Linked DNA regions of Homo sapiens: regions 2 and 3 are each linked to region 1. Evidence: promoter capture Hi-C in 16 types of primary human blood cells and fetal thymus (Javierre and others, 2016). All regions are on one chromosome and are shown on one strand. The core of a region is centred on a gene start or on the middle of the fragment in contact, and the rest is flanking DNA. Distances in the headings are between cores, read along the strand shown.

Region 1 (2,709 bases), core at 71-2,570:
AAGCTCTGAGTGTGGAAGGAGGGTGCAGGGACCAGGTATGCATGTATGTTTCTTGGAAGGGGGGCTGAAGCAGAAAGACAAGTTTATCCTGGCATCTAGGGTTGTCGTTAGCATTTTCTTTTCTAAATCAGTAGTAGCTCTCAGAGTGGTGTTTCTAAAGTGTTAGTGTGCAAAGGAATCACTAGGGCTGCTTGTTAAAATTACCAATCCTGAGCCTACCTCCAGAGATTCTGGTTCCACAGCAGCACTGTGGTGGGGGCCAGTGACTTTTGTGGGGGTGTCTGAGGGCTGTGGTGCCCCAGAACCTGGAAGGGCAGAGGGGCCATGATCAGGTTTCAGATCAGTGGCCAGAGGCTTTTCTGGAAGCTGTACATTTTCACAAGCACATTTTCAAAAGCCCTTGGAGAGGATGTTGATTGAGGGGAGTTTTGGGGACTGGTGGAGATTATGGGGGTGAAAAGTCCAGAGCTATCTCTTAACACCCCTACTCTCTGAGGGCCAGGCCTTGAAAGTATTGGAAATGGGAGGTGCCTTAGGTACACTGTCATTTTACAGAGGAAGACAACGAGGCCCAGAGAGGTTAAGTGGGTTGATTAAGGTCTCACAGCTAGTTAAGAGCAGCTCTGAGACGGCAACCGAAGTATTCTGGTTCCCTATCCAGTTCCCCACTCACTACACACCTGTTCCTTCTGGGGCGGGAGACCTGAGGAAGGAAAGGAGTGAGAGGAGAATGTAGTGAGAGTTGGAGAGCGTTGGGTCCACAGCCCCCAAGGGCAGGGCCACAACAAAAATGTTGTCCTGGTTGAAAAGGAGTGAGAATCAGGACAGGGAGAATTTTGGTTTGGAATTCAGTCAAACAATTGCTATTAAAATCACTAATAGAATTATCTTCCGAAGGCTAGCTGTCCTTTCCAGACGAAAAGAAATATTCCAAGTCTAAGACTTTTGCTTTCTTCCTTCCAGGGAGAATACATTCCCCCAAGGGAGCTCTGTTTCAGATTTTCTCCCTAGTAACAGACTCCCCTGCTTAGCTCTGGCCATCCCGGGTAGTGAGTGGTGCGGGGCGGGGGTGGAAGGGGGCTGGAAGCCTGGCTAGGGGGGTCTGCGGCGGCGCGGGCGGGGGCGCTGCGGGGAGGAGGGGGGCGCTGCGGGGCGGTAGTGGGGGTGCTGCGGGGCGAGGCCGCTGCGGGGCGGTGGGGGGCGCTGCGGGCGGGGGCACTGCAGCACCGCGGCCCTCGGGCGGCCGGCGCGGCCTGCTGGAGGGGGCGCTGTGGGCACCGCGCAGCGGCCTTTTGTCAGCGCGCAGGGCCAGGAGAGCTCTCATTTCCTCCCAGCCTCGTGCGGGAAATGGCTTTAATTCTGACGGCAGGGCTGTGAGGGACTAGCGGGAACCCGAGCCTTTTGTCAAGGAACTGCGGCGTCGGTGGCCAGTCATCCCCGCCGCCGCGGAGCCGCTGCACTGCTGGGGGATCTCCCAGCAGCTCTGACGAGCGCGGGCTGCAGCATGGGCAGAAAACGCTGCCCTGCAGATTAGCTGGGTGGATTTTTTAAGCGCACCCCACCCCCCAAACCCATAAAATAACAAAACCAACCCGCAGTGGCCGACCGGAGATAGCTAAGATGCCGCGCAGGAGGTAAGGGTCTGGGGAGCGGGCCTGGTGGGCTGCCTGGGGTCGCTGGTCTCCTGGCGCGGAGACCCTGGCATCCCTCGGCCGGGCGGGAGCCGCTTGGCCCAGGTGGGGCGCGTCTGTTGCCGAGCGCGTCGGTGCTGCAGCCCTGGCCGGCAGCGGTGTGTTTTGCGCCTAAAGGTTTCTGGTGATGATGTAGCATCCGAGGCTCTTAGGAAATCGGGGCTGCAAGCACTGGCCCCTGCTTGGGGATGGTGGGACCCTCGCCCGGAGCGTAACGCCTGACAGGTGGGGCTTTCTTTTGGGTCCGAATGGAGGGGCGGCAAGCCTCGCCTCGCCTAGCCGGGCGGGGCCGCTCCTCCCCTCCCCTCCCTCCCCTCCCCTCTCTTTCCTTCCCGCTCGGCCGCCGCCCTCCGGGGTAGCGGTGCGAGGCGGGCTTGGCGGGGCTGGGCGCGTCCCCCGGGGCCTCGCGATCGCTGGCTGCGCGGCGCTCAGCCGCAGTGGCCGGCCGAGCAGGTGCGGCGTCGGCAGCCGCCTACATTGAGATCGGGGCAACCGGCACGTGAGCGGGCCTCGTGGGTTTTGATTTTATGCGGCTCCACCACTTTGGAGGGAAAAATCCCACTGTACCCGAGGGGGTCTTGCCAGTCTGTTTCTTCCATCTTCCCTCTCCTCTCCCTGCCTCCCCTCCCTTTCTGCAGCCGGGGCGGAGGCCATCCCCGGTCCCGGAGGCGGGAGTCGGTGTCTGCTTATTTTTAAATCACACCACAGCCTACCTGGTGTTGGGGGGAAGGGAGGGAGGGGCAGACTGCTTTAGGATGCAGATCAGGCTCTCGGGTCTGGCCTATTGTCTTGCCTTTTCTCTTCCTTCCTTTTCTCACCCCTAATCTCCATCTCTTGCCCAAAACTAAAAATAGAAAATAGGAAATAGAAATAGAAAATAAAAAAGCAAGCTCCAGCCCACACCCTATCAAATTCTTTAAAAAACTGTCATTTATCTCTGACACATGATTAATACCCATCTGTTTCCTTACACCCACTCTTCCCTCTTGCTGTTTGTCGTCTAAGATTCAACTGACTC
Region 2 (2,709 bases), core at 132-2,631, 230 kb before region 1:
CATAAAATTGACCGTTTTAACCATTTTACAATTCTGTAACACTGTATACAATTCAGTGACATTAAGCACATTCACACTGTTGTGATGCCATCAGCACCATCCATCTTCCCAAACTGAAACCCTGTATCCATTAAAAAGTAACTCCCCATTCTTTGTCCCCCAGACCCTGGCAAGCACCATTTAACTTTCTGCCCATGATTTTGACTACTCTGGGTACCTCATATGAGGGGAATCATACAATGTGTGTCCTTCCCTATTTGGCTTATTTCACTTAGCATCATGCCTTCAAGGTTCATTGATGTTGTAGCATGTGTCAGAATTTCACTTCATTTTAAGGCTAGATAATATTCCATTGTATGTTTATAGCACTTTATGTCTATCTTTTCGTCAACCGATGGACATTTGGGTTGCTTCCCTCTTCTGACCATTGTGAATAATGCTATGAATATTGGTATACAAATGTCTCTGCTTTCTCAGTTCTTTTGGGTATATACCCAGAAGTAGAATTGCTAAATCATACGGTAATTGTTTTTTTTAGGAATACGTATTTTTATGCAGGAAAAATATGATTCTGAAATAAGCCTACTAGACTCTTGTTCTACATACTTTATTTTGCATGCCTGTCTCCGCCACTAGATGGGAGACTTGTTGACAAGGACTAACCGGTTCCAGGTGCCCCTCAGGAACCCTCCCAGAGGTGTAGTAAATGCATCCAGCGCCTAGCGGACGCCCTGCGTGCCCGGCAAGGGGTGAGGTGCAGGCGATACAAAGGTGCAGAATGTACCCCAAAAGAACAGCCTAGAGGGGAATTAGGCCGGAGGATGACCGATTAAAATCACCCCAACTCCTGATTGTGCCGCTTCCTAGGTGCATGACCCAGGGCAACTTCCTTTGGCCCCGGCTTCCCCGTCTATAAAATGATTTACATTATCTGCTCAAATTTCCGACAAGAACACACCTCGCCTTTATCACAGAGCGTGGCACATATTAGGAATTCAATAATTTTGTCCCTATCACCTGCGATAGCAAGAGACAGACTTGTCCGCAACCTGCCGGGAGGCAGGTTCTGGGGAGGTTGCTGGGGCGCGGTCGGGCGGCCCTGTCCGGCCCTGGACCACCTCCAGGCTGGTACGGGAGTGCACAGGGAGGGACTGGAGGCTGCACTCCGAGCCCCAGTATGGGCGCTTGGTCGTCTCCGCCCCTGGGCACCGTCCCGCCTCCCTCTGGCTGCAGCGGTCTGCATTCATTCCCCTCAGTGGAGCGGGGGATCCTGGCGGGGCAGCGGCGGTTGGCCCTCCTCTCCGGCGGGCGGCGCTAGCGCGAGCCTGGCCCCGGGCAGCGCTAGGGCCGGGCTCCTCTCGGCGGCGGCGCACCGTCGTCCTGTCGTCCGCGGGGCGGGGACGCGGCGGCGGCGGCGGCGGTGGCGGCTGTGTGTCGCCGGAGCCGAAGCGCGCAGGCCCGTCCCGGTGGCCGGGGAGCGGGCGGGTGGGGGCGCCATGTGGTTCATGTACCTGCTGAGCTGGCTGTCGCTCTTCATCCAGGTGGCCTTCATCACGCTGGCTGTCGGTGAGACTGCACGACCCCGGCCCGCGCGGGCTCCCGCCCCGGCATCGGTGCTCGTTGGGGGTCGCATCGCGGGGGTTTCGGAGCCACTCGGGGGACCACTGCCCGGCGCTCCCGGCCTTCGCCGCCCCAACCCCTTCCCGCCTGATCCTGCCCCTCCTGTCGAGCCTGGCAGCCCGGCCTGACCGTGGCTCCTTCCAGGTGTCACAGAGTCCGCTCCGGCACTGCCCGAGAAAGGGTGACTCGAGTGCCGCCCCCGCGTCTGCGGACCGCTAACCGCTGCGGCTCCCACTCTTCGCGGGCCTGCCGCGCGGAACTTTTCCCCAACGCCTACCGCCGCCTTTGCGCCTCTGGCCCTTCATGCTCCCTGCTCTCTCCACCTTTGACACTTCTCCTCTGGCTGGTTCCCATTCGGCCTCAGTTGAGATGTCATCTTTTCCGGGAAGTCCACAGGGGTTGATGGTCCAGCAGTGCCCTGTCCTTTCCCTAAAGTAGCATTTCTCACACTAAACTCGTCTGTCTCTCCCTACTGTTCCCCTTCCCTTTCCCAAGCTGGGTCAGGGAAGGACCCTTGTCTGTCTTTTTCAGCTGTATTCTCAGCCCAGGGACCTGGCTCATGCCAAGTGCCCAGCAGGTGTTTATTGAATACGTGAAATTCCGTTTTCTGAGCCAGAGGTTATCATTGTACTGTGGCATCAAATGCAGACTTTCGTTGATTTTTATGAGATTTGTCCTTAGTTGCCCTAAGAAAGTTTTACTTCTCCAGACTTGGAAGGGCAACACATGGGATGTTTGGTTTGTTCTTGACCTTCTGGGGTCCATGAAGGGTGGATGGGGACTGGGCTGCAGAGAGAGGGGTGACCAGGATGGTGGGAGTGACCCTGGCTGATAGTCTCCCTGCCTCCCACCCTGCAGCGGCTGGACTCTATTACCTGGCAGAACTGATAGAAGAATACACAGTGGCCACCAGCAGGATCATAAAATACATGATCTGGGTAAGTGGCATCTTTCTCCAGGAGTCCTCCTCACTCTTTTGCCCTGCCTCAAAAGCAGGAAGTGGGGAGAGTTTGGCATGGATGATGAGGCCTGTGTCTCTGCTGTTTCCTGAGCATACACTCTTACCTCCTTGCCCTGAACGCTGTCTTT
Region 3 (2,709 bases), core at 82-2,581, 160 kb before region 1:
GAGAGAAGCAGATATTTTGGAGAGCAGTTGGAGCACATACTCAGCAGAGCACTGGGAGGAAGTTCTGTGAGTAGCTGGTGCTGAATCCCTCGGGCCCAAAAGAGCCTTTGGCTTCCAGTCTCTTCCAATTCCTGGCTACACCATGGTTCCTGTTATTGAATTTCAACAAGGCTATGGCTTCTGTTTTTAATCCCTGGGGAGTCCATCCATTATCTGAGGGCACTTGAAGGAATTTCTTATCTTTTCCCCCAAAAGAGCTCTGACAGAGACTCTCAGATAACTTAAACCAGAGAAAAACCAGCCCTCCCCCCAAAATCTGACATGCTTTCTTGACATCTCCGCTGGGATCTCAAACTTAACTGATCCAAAACAAAATTCTTGATTATGCTCCCACCATCTTGCTTCTCCCCCAGTTTCTCAACTCATTATATGGTGTCACCATTCTCCCAGTTGTTCTACCCAAACCACTTCCTTTCCCTTGCCCTGGGCGTATAATCCATGAGCAAGTCCTAATATGTTCCAGCACTAAATTAGAGTGCCTCTCACATTAGTACGCTTCTCTCCTCCACCACTGCTCTGTTCAGGACCCATGTCAGTAGTTCCTACCTGTCCACACCTGTCCACTCCTTTCCCCTGTGGGTCCCTTCCCCAAGTGGCAGCCAGAGAACCTCTGTAAAATGCCAATCATCTCCTGTCACTTTCTCTTCAATGTATTACCATAGTCTCTAAGCATCGCATGATCCTCCCCTACCTACTTACCCAATTACCCTGTAGCTCCAGCCACTCTGGCCTTCTGATACTTCTAGAACATTCTATGCCAATTCCTGCCCCTCACGTCTTCATAGTTACCGTCTGCCTTGACGTCTCCTTCTGGCTCCTCATCTGGCTGTTTCTCCCTTGCCACTCAGGCCTAAGCTCAACGTCATCTTCTCAAAGAGGCCTTCCCTGAACACCCCAGTAAAACACTTCCTTTTAGTCTCTCTCCTATGACCCCATTTGAGCTCCCTCACAACACTCATCACTCCTGGAAATGCGGTTTGTCTTTGTCTCTGTGGATCTTAGCTGCACGAGGGCAGATGCCTGGTCTGTTTTGTTCTAAGCCAAAGCCCAAGTGCCTAGAAGAGTACCTGCTATATAGTAGGTATTCAATAATATTTTTGAACAAAATTATGGGTGAACATACTGAGAATGCCACAGAATTCTAGCTACAAGTTAGTTAACCTCTCTGAGGCTCAGTTTGCTTAAATGGGGATAATAGTACCCATAAAGCCATCTTCATGGGTACTATTACCCATGAATGCACCCGCTGCAAGTCTTGAGCAAGTTATCTATTTAACTTTTCTATGCCTCAGTTTCCTTCTATTTAAAGTGGAAACAATATACTCTTATTGGCTGGGCATGGTGGCTCACACCTATAATCCCAGCACTTTGGAAGGCCGAGGAGGGAGGATTACTTGAGACCAGGAGTTCCAGGCCAGCCTAGGAAACAAAGCGAGACCCCGTCTCTACAGTAAACATAAATAAATAAATAAATAAATAAGACTTACTGTTGTATGCTAATGAGGTGATTCAGGGTGGATCTCTAGGTAGTTTCAGGACTGGGGCTGGTTCTAGAAAGACCATACTTGTGATTAGAGGGTAGAAACTTTCAGCCGCCCCCATTCTTTCCTTCTAGGGAGGGGAGGGGAATGGAGATTGGATTATAGTCTTTTTTTGTTTGTTTTTGAGATAGAGTCTTGCTCTGTCATCCAGGCTGGAGTGCAGTGAAGCTAACATGGCTCACTGTAGCCTTGACCTCCTGGGCTCAAACAATCCTCCCACCTCAGCCTCCCAAGTAGCTGGGACTACAGGTGTGTGCCACCACACCCTGCAGTTTACAGTGTAAACTGTAAAAAATGTTTTAAAAAACTTTTTTTAGAGATAAGGTCTCCCTCTGCTGCCAAGGCTGGTCTTGAACTCCTGGACTCCTGAGCAATCCTCCCTCCTTGGCCTCCCAAAGTGCTGGGATTGCAGGCGTGAGCCACTGTGCCAGGCCGGCCTGGATTTAGTCTTGAACAAGGAGACCAGGAGAACTTCTGGTTGGCGAACACGTGGAAGTGCTGGGAATGGGGGCACTGGAAACGGCATGGGAGCTCCACGCACCTCCCCCTTACCTTGCCCTTTGTGTCTCTTCCATCTGGCTCTTCCTCACTCGTGTCATTTATAATAAACCAGCAAGTGTAGGGGAGGTGTTTCCTGAGTTGTGTGCGTCATTCTAGTGAATTGTCAAACCTGCAGAGGGCGATGTGGGAGCCCCCGGTTTTAGGCCAGTCCATTCAGAAGCACAGGTGGCTCCTGGAACTTGAGTCTGCTGTGGCACTGTCTTGTGGGACAGAGCCCTTAACTTGTAGGGTCTGTGCTAGCTCTGGGAATTAGTGTCAGTATTGAACTGTTGAATATACTCAGTGATGCTGGAGAATTGGAGCACTGCCTGCTGGTGGTTGGAACATACCATACACCTGGTGTTGGAAGAAAAATCTCACACGTATCCCATAAGGTTGTGGTGAGGACTAAACTAGTTAGACTATGTCACACCCTTGGAACAGGACCTGGTGCATGGGAAGCGCTCAATAAGCATCAGCTGTCCATTACTTTTACTATCTGTCAACCCTAGGACTGGGGACAGAGGAAGGAGGGTTGTAGTGAGAACAGTGCGGAGGACTTGCTGAG

The links. Contacts are between HindIII fragments. The CHiCAGO score rates a contact against its expected background, and 5 or more counts as called.
Region 2: the fragment with the promoter of TEX261 here is called in contact with the fragment with the promoter of ADD2 in region 1 in 3 of 17 cell types (monocytes, erythroblasts and M0 macrophages); the score reaches 6.5 in monocytes.
Region 3: a contact is called between a fragment that was not itself captured here and the fragment with the promoter of ADD2 in region 1, in 4 of 17 cell types (M2 macrophages, M0 macrophages, M1 macrophages and 1 more). The highest score is 8.9, in M2 macrophages.

Annotation. Positions count from the first base shown.
Region 1 is chr2:70,766,811-70,769,519 of GRCh38, reverse strand. It overlaps ADD2 (adducin 2), which reads left to right and starts at 1,320. Exons shown (of 16, transcript NM_001617.4): 1 at 1,320-1,634. RefSeq lists enhancers at 80-644, 1,054-1,619, 1,620-2,185. The HindIII fragment of the contact is 9,920 bases long and covers 1-2,709 here.
Region 2 is chr2:70,993,545-70,996,253 of GRCh38, reverse strand. TEX261 (testis expressed 261) reads left to right here and starts at 1,381. Exons shown (of 6, transcript NM_144582.3): 1 at 1,381-1,566; 2 at 2,479-2,558. The coding sequence starts at 1,497. RefSeq lists an enhancer at 570-619 and silencers at 1,160-1,689, 1,720-1,809. The HindIII fragment of the contact is 23,402 bases long and covers 1-2,709 here.
Region 3 is chr2:70,923,177-70,925,885 of GRCh38, reverse strand. All of the region lies in intron 2 of VAX2 (ventral anterior homeobox 2), which reads right to left. Among named protein-coding and RNA genes, the nearest start is that of ATP6V1B1, 11 kb to the left of the region's middle. The HindIII fragment of the contact is 8,926 bases long and covers 1-2,709 here.